Linked DNA regions of Homo sapiens: region 2 is linked to region 1. Evidence: promoter capture Hi-C in 16 types of primary human blood cells and fetal thymus (Javierre and others, 2016). All regions are on one chromosome and are shown on one strand. The core of a region is centred on a gene start or on the middle of the fragment in contact, and the rest is flanking DNA. Distances in the headings are between cores, read along the strand shown.

Region 1 (3,711 bases), core at 550-3,049:
AAACAAACCTGGATTTGAATCCTTATAGGCAGTGTAATCTGGGGCCAATTACTCCTTCAAGTGCCGATTTCTTTATGCATAAAATATTAACTATGCTGAGTTGCTGTGAAGATCAATGGAGTAAGGACTTAGGACAGCATCTGACACAGAGAAATGCCCTGTATTATTATCATGTCATTTGAGTTCCACCTCATAGATGCCTCTCAGATTCATCCCCTCTGCACTGCTTTCAACTGTCACTTTCTTGCTTCACACACTCCTCACTCCTGGCTTTGTTGTAGTCTTTCCTTTGCTCATGGCTCATCTCAAGCCATGTTCCCTCTCAACCTATCTTCTCTTAAGTTGAAATTGAATAGTCACTCTTAGCTTAAAACCTCCAGTAGCCCTATGACTTATATGTGGTGGGCTTCAAAGATAATGTCCAGACTGCCCAGCACAACATCTTTTCTGAGTTTGCCTCTTTTCAGCCTCACCTCCAGTCCCTTCTCCAATCCCAAATCCTGTGCTTCAGTCACAGCCATCTTCTCTTCATTTTCCCTAAACTCACCATTTCCTTCATGCTTCAGTGGTTTTGCAGGTCCTTGCCCCTCTGCCCAAAATGATTGGTGAGCTTCTATTCACCCTTCAATACCTCCTGCTCAAATCCCCCTTCTCTGTGAAGCCTAATCTGTATCCTCTGTCATATTACTCTTATCACATAACACTGCATGCATCTAGATAAGCACTTATTATGTTATCTGCTACACACAGCATGTTCCTCAAGATCAAGGACTGGATTATGCTTCTATTTTCAGCTCTTATGATAGTACCTGGCTAAAGGAGGCACCAATAAATGTTCACTGAATGAGTACATAAAACTCTTTATAATAAGAACTATAAGCCCTAACATCATCAGGACTTGATTCTCAAGAATTTTTTTTCTGGCAGTGACTGTGAATTTCTTTTCCACCCACCTGTATACTTTATCCTTCCATTTCTCTTGCAATTGACACTTTTCACAAGTCTTGTATTTCATATCACTGAGCCAGATTCTTGAAATCTGGAGAAGCTAAATAAGACCTCTGATCAAAGTTGGAAAAAAATGCATCTGCCTAAAGAATCACAACTGTGGTCATTAATTGAGTGCTCCTGAAGCTCAGATGCTATGTTAAATGCTGTGCACACATTACTTAATTTCATTTTTACAACTGGCTAGCATGTAGCTTCTACTACAGTGAACAATGAGCAAGATGCCTGAAATGTGCTGTCCTAGGTGTCATTTCAAGTGTCAGAACATGTCACCCAGAACTGATAGAAATCTATCTTTCAGAAAATAAATTCCTTACTTCTGCCTCTGTGGATCTCCTGAGTTGAGGCAAGGGACACATTTTGGTTCAGAGCTTGGATGGTCCTATATTTAGACTAACAGTTCCAGCTCTTTAACGTCCTTGGGTGCTCAGAGGGGCAGAGTGAGCCCCTGGGTGTGTGGACTGGTGACTGAGCAGAGTGGCTGTCCTGGCCTCGCTTGCTGCCCACTCTCCCCCATCACCTGCTGCACGCTGCTCTTCCTCAGGGTTTCTCTAACATCTCCTGGTGCACATGCCATCCCCACCCCTGCCTCTCATCTTGATCATTCCCCCCAAGTGTGCAGGCTTTGCAGTTCCCCAGGGTGTACCCAGACCCGGCATTTCCAGCTTTGAGGTGCGTTGAGCCTATGAATCAGAAAGTAATGGAAAAAATGCCTACAACTCACCAGCTTGTGGCTTGTCTCAGGCAGTCCTGGTATGTCAGGCTTCTCAGCAACTGAACCAAACAGATCTAGAGGTAGAAACTTGGCATGCAGAAGTAGGAAATAAAGTTTCCTGCAGAAAGTGAAGGCGGAGATACAGGGCAACTAATGGTAAAGATTTGAAAAAAAAAATCAGAAAAATATAGTTCTTCTTTTCCAGTCAGGAACATTGTACATTGGGTTGAGGTCTCCAGAATAGGATTAATTTTGAAATCTTGCTTATGCAACCTTGAGTGTGAGTCAGGCAAACCCTGTACATCTGCTCCTGTTTCTAACGACTCTGAGCTTCTTTATCTTGTGGGTCTTTATACCTGGAACATTTCCACTCTCTGCTCTCCTACTAGTGATAATTTGCATGATATGAGCACAACAGAATGTTTCATGTTCCAGAGAATAAAGGGTATTGGTGATAGTGGAGGAAGTATAATGAGGTTTTACTGCGATCATGTGTGCTGGTTTCAGTGGTATCATGGATTCAGAATCTGGTTAGAAATTTCATTTAGATAAGACTTTAAAATTTTTTTTTATTTAATTCACATAATAATTGTATATATTTATGGGACACAATGTGATGTTTTGCTACATGTATACATTGTGCAATGATCAAATCAGGGTAATTACATATCCATCCTCTGAAACATTTATCATTTCTTTTGAAATAATAATGATATTGAAAACCCTCTCTTCTAGCTATTTATATATACAGAATTCATTATTAACTACCGTCACCCTACTTGGAGCAGAGCACCAGCACTTGTTTCTCCTATCTCATGGTAACTTTGTACCCGTTGATCAACTGCTGCCCATTCTCACCTCCTCTCTTTCCTCCCCAGTCTCTGGTAACCACTGCTCTACTGTCTTTTTCTAAGATAGCAACTTTTTTTTTTTTTTTAAATTGGGTTTCATTCTGTCACCCAGACCGGAGTGCACTGGCACAGTCTCAGCTCACTGCTACCTCCACCTTCTGAGTTCAAGCCATCCTCCCACCTCAGCCTCCTGAGTAGCTAGGATTACAGGTGTGTGCCATCATGCCCGGCTAAGCAACTTATTTAAAAAAAAATTCCACATAAGAGTGAGATCACGTGGTATTTGTCTATCTGTGTGTGGCTTATTTCACTTAACATCCTCTAGGTTCATCCACATTATCACAAATTACAGGATTTCAAACTTTTTAATGAAAAGGAAATGCTAAATTATCTCTTGTGTCAGGAACGTCCTTAGCAAGAAGAACCTCAGTTATTTTAAATGCCCCTCCTTGGAAAGACGTTTTGTTAAAAGATAATGTAAATTTTGCAATGGGGACATCAGACTAGGAGCATTCCTAAGATTGTGCAGAGAACATGGTGTCATCTAAGTTGGCCCCTGGCACTTTCTGGAATCCAGCAGACACCGGAGGCAGGATCTCATGCTGTGGACTTGGCAAGTTTCTAAGTTTCCATTTCCCAAATATGAAATATGAATAACAAGACTGGGGGTCTATGAGGGTAAATGGACCTAAAGCAGCTAGAGCAGGGTCTGGCAGGCACTCCACAGGTAACAAACAGAACAGAACAGTCTGAGCCCTGCAGAGTGCCAGAGGTTGAAGGATGCATCCACTGCTAGAGCCAACAACAATCAAATGCTCAGGGCAGTCCAGGTGTCCTTTCCAGATTTCAAGAAGTTGGCTTTTTTGCTGTTGTTGTTGTTGTTGTTGTTGTTGTGTTATGTTGTGTTTTTGCTTTCTTTTGCGACAAGATCTTGCTCTGTTGCCTAGGCTGGAGTGCGGTGGCATGATCATGCTTCACTGCAGTCTCAACCTCAAGCAATCCTCTCATCTCAGCCTCCCAAGTAGCTGAGACTACAGGTGCATGCCACCATGCCTGACTATTTTTTGTAGAGATGGGGTTTTGTCATGTTGCCCGGGCTGGTCTCGAACTCCTGGGCTCAGGCAATCTGCCTGCCTC
Region 2 (4,128 bases), core at 1,402-3,901, 380 kb after region 1:
CTGGACAGACAGGTTACAGCCTTGGCCTCTCAGCAGAATCACCTGTGGGGCTTTTAATACTACTGAGCCTGCGTCCTCACCTGGCATACTGAGTGAACACACTGGAGACTGGTGGGTAGCCAGGACTGGGAGCCACTGCAGAGCTCAGGTCAGGTGTGCAGTCAGCCTTTGTGCGGGTAGTGCTGAAGCCTCAAAAGGGAAGAGAGAAGGGAGGAGAGAGGCAGGGATTGAGTCTATAAAGGGGAGAATGGGTGTCAGCTTAGAAGCTGCAAATCAGGTACCAGTCAACTAAACCTCTTTGGGTTTTCCAGCATCTCTTGGCCCCTTTCCTTTTGGAGTATTCCAAATTTTTTTGAATCTAAAAAAAACTACAAAGGGAAAACCTTTTGTTTCATTATGTCACCTTAAAGATTGATTTGCATAGAGATGTACTCATATTTCTCATGCATGTGACAGGCCTTGTGAATTGATGTGAGCTGAAAAAGTTTGCATATTTGATTTGAAGGTTATTTTGTTTTAGATGTTTGGTGAAGATCGCACAGTTCACAGACAATAATGTCCCACTTTTTTGCCCACGCGGGAGTGCAGTGGCACGATCATAGCACACTGTAACCTCAAGCTGCTGGGCTCAAGTGATCTTCTTACCTCAGCCTTCGAGTAGCTGGATAGGCATTTACCACTGTGTCTGGCTAATTTTTTACTTTTTATATAGACAGGGTCTCACTATGTTGCCCAGCTTGGCCTCAAATTCCTGGGCTCAAGTGAACCCCCTGCCTAGGCCTCCCAAAGTGCTAGGATTACAGGTGTGAGCCACTATGCCCAGGCATCTTTTTCATTTTGGGCAAGGGTTGGGGTAGGGGGTTGGGGTAGTCTTAACCTGTCACACAGGCTGGAGTGCAGTGGCATGATCATGGCTTACTGTGGCCTCTACCTCCTGGGTTCAAGCAATCCTCCTGCCTCAGCCTCTTGAGAAGCTGGGACTACAGGTACATGCCACCATGCTCAGCTAATTTTTTGTGTTTTTTTGGTAGAGATGGGATATTGCCATGTTGCCCACCCTGGCCTCAAACTCCTGGGTTCAAGCTATCCTCCTGCCTCAGCTTCCCAAAGTGTTGGGATTACAGGCATGAGCGACTGTGTTCTGATGCATCTTTTTAAAATTCTTGTTACTTTGCCTGAAATGAAACAACCACTACCTCAAAATGCAGATAACATTTATTTTATTTTTTCTCACCCTGTCTTACGGTGCTGAACCATTTCTGAATAGTTTGTTCCTTGGCTTTTAAATTGGTATCTGGACAGAAATTAGCAGTGAGTTTAGTGTCCCATATTGAGTTCTGAAAATGGAATAGGTAGTAATCTTTCAAAAAAGAAGTTTTCTTTCTCCTACAATTCCCCTTTCTTGGCAAATAATTGATGTTTAAGGTTTCCCATATCCTTTTTGAGAAGTAGATATGATATATATAATAAATGAATAAGCATCCAGATCATTGCAGTAATTTCTTTGAAGAAGAGCAAGCTTATTTGAGAGTTATGTTCTTCTACCATGAAAATGAAATTGGTTTGTGTGCCTGTGTCTTTTAATTTAGTAACCTGAGTTGGAATTCGATGAGGCAGAGCCACAGTGGGAGGACTGAGTAAATTCATACTTTATCTTTATTACTCTTATAATTGACATGTTTTTCTGCAGTGACTGGTACTATGCAAGAAGCCCCTTTCTGCAGCCAAAGCTGAGCTCGGACATTGTGGGCCAACTCTATGAGCTGACTGAGGTTCAGTTTGACCTGGCGTCGAGGGGCTTTGACTTGGATGCTGCCTGGCCAACATTTGCCAGGTACTTTGAAGGATTGCTTGGTTTAAAAGACAGGAAAAGAGACATTTGAAGTTTTGAAGATTGCCACCAGTCTACTCAAAACAATTTTGCTTGCTCAGTAAATTACACAAACCTGTTCAACTCTTATTCCAGCTCCTTTTACAGACTTTGTTGAATCATGACTAACAATAACATCTGAAGGCTCCAACCTTAAACCAACTTAACTGGCCAGGGCATGAGTCAGTGGAGATGTGTATTGCAAAAGCCAAGGCTTTAAAATTTTTTTAAGGCACTTGTTGTTACGGGCATTGGGGGAGGAGTGGGCTTTTTCCCGTGCCTGTTCTTATGGAGTTATTACAGAAGGCTCCTAAGCAGTAGGAGAGGAAGTGAAAGCCACAGCTTGTCCACATAAGGGTTGCAGGAAAGGTTGCTGCATTTTTGTTTCTTCTTTTTTTCTTTTCTGAGGCCATCAAGCCAGCCATATCTTACACCAGTGTGGCACTCACATACCACCAGAGTCCTTACATGAGCTCCAAGAAGGAGGTGTGAGGAACAGGCTCAGAGGATCAGGGGACTTGACAAAGTCACCTAGCTGGTGGGCAGCAGGCCTGGGACACCTGACTTGGGTTAAAATCAAGTCCAGTGTTCTTTGTTTTGTTTTGCTTTCTGTTTATAAGGCTTTTAAAATTTAACATTCATATTTTTTATTAGGAAATACTTCATGTATAGAGAAAAGTGGTGACTATGATAGTCACATGCAAACCACTAGGATTTAATTTTGCCATATTCAGATGTCCTTTTTTTATTTTTATTTTTTGTAGGGACGGAGTCTTGCCATCTCTCCCAAGCTGGTTTGAACTCCTGGGCTCAAGCTATCCTCCTATCTTGGCCTTCCAAACTGCTGGGATTACAGGTGTGAGCCACCACGCCTGGCCCAGATACTCTTTTTAAAACTTTTACATTTTGAAATAATTTCAGAATTACAGAAAAGTTGCAAAAATAGTACAAAGTACTCATCTATCCTTCACCCTGATTCCCTAGTTATCGATATTTTACTATAATTGTTCATCATTTTTTCTATTTACATGTTGATTTATTTCCTAAGCCTTTTGAGAGTAAATTACAGACTTGATCCTCTTTTCTCTTAAGTACTTAATTGTGTATTTTCTAAAATCAAGGACATCCTGTTATATAACTCAGTACAGTTATTAAAATCAGAAAATTAGCATTGATACAATACTGCTATCTAATTTACAGATCTCATTTAAATTTTACAAATTATCTCAGTAATGTCTCTCATAATCTAAGGTCCAATCCCAGATCACATATTAATTGTTAATTCATTAATTGCTATGCCTCTCTAGTCCCCTTTAATTTTGAACAGTTTTTCAGTCTTTGTCTTTCATAACATTGACATTTTTGAAAAATACAGGCCAGTTATTTTGTAAAATGTTCCTTAATTTGAGTTTGTCTGATGTTTCCTCATTATTGGATTTAGGTTAAGTGTTTTTGGCAGGAATACCTTACCTGTTGTGTCCTTGTCAGCACACTGTATCTGGAGGCACACAGTGTTGATTTGTTTCATTACTAATGAGGTTAACCCTGGTCATTTGGGTAAGGCGGTGCTTGCCAAGTTTCTCCAAAAGTTACTATTTCTTCCTTTGTAATGAGTATATATCTTATGGGAAGACATGCTGAAATTACATTATTATCCTTTTTTCTCTTAAATCTGTCCTGTATTAGTTTTAATACCATTTGATCATTCTTGCCTGAAGCAGTTATTACCATAATAATTACCAGAGTGATTTTCTAACTCCATTATTTCTTTTACATTATTAGTTGGCATTCTACTGTAAGGAAGATCTTTTTCTTTTTCCCCATTTATTCATTCATAGCAGTATTGACTCATGGATTCTTATTTTATTCAATAGGTTGCATTCTGTCACTGTCATTATTTATTTTGAAGCTTACATTATCCCATTTATCCAATTACCCCAGTGGGGAGCCCCCTTCAAGCTGGCTCTTGTGGGGAGGTTTGGTTACATCTGATACTTTTTTAAGAAATAAAATATTATAGATCAGCTAAAGCCCCACCCCAATGCCATCCTTTCTCCTTTGTTCCCCTTTCAGAAGTAATCATGTAATCAATGCATTTCATTCTCAGATCTTATGCTTTCATTATTAATTGTGTATTTGTAAATATTTTATATATGTATATATATATAGTTTTATTTTGTAAATGTTTTAAAATTTTACACATGTTGAATCATGTAATAGCTATCCTTTGCAACCTGCTTTTTTCATTTTGCCTTGTT

The links. Contacts are between HindIII fragments. The CHiCAGO score rates a contact against its expected background, and 5 or more counts as called.
Region 2: a contact is called between a fragment that was not itself captured here and the fragment with the promoter of CCR2 in region 1, in 2 of 17 cell types (naive B cells and monocytes). The highest score is 5.5, in naive B cells.

The regions. Positions count from the first base shown.
Region 1 is chr3:46,352,199-46,355,909 of GRCh38, reverse strand. It overlaps CCR2 (C-C motif chemokine receptor 2), which reads right to left and starts at 1,799. Exons shown (of 2, transcript NM_001123396.4): 1 at 1,733-1,799. The HindIII fragment of the contact is 10,451 bases long and covers 1-3,711 here.
Region 2 is chr3:45,970,794-45,974,921 of GRCh38, reverse strand. FYCO1 (FYVE and coiled-coil domain autophagy adaptor 1) reads left to right here. Exons shown (of 18, transcript NM_024513.4): 6 at 1,691-1,834. Among named protein-coding and RNA genes, the nearest start is that of FYCO1, 23 kb to the left of the region's middle. The HindIII fragment of the contact is 2,260 bases long and covers 1,522-3,781 here.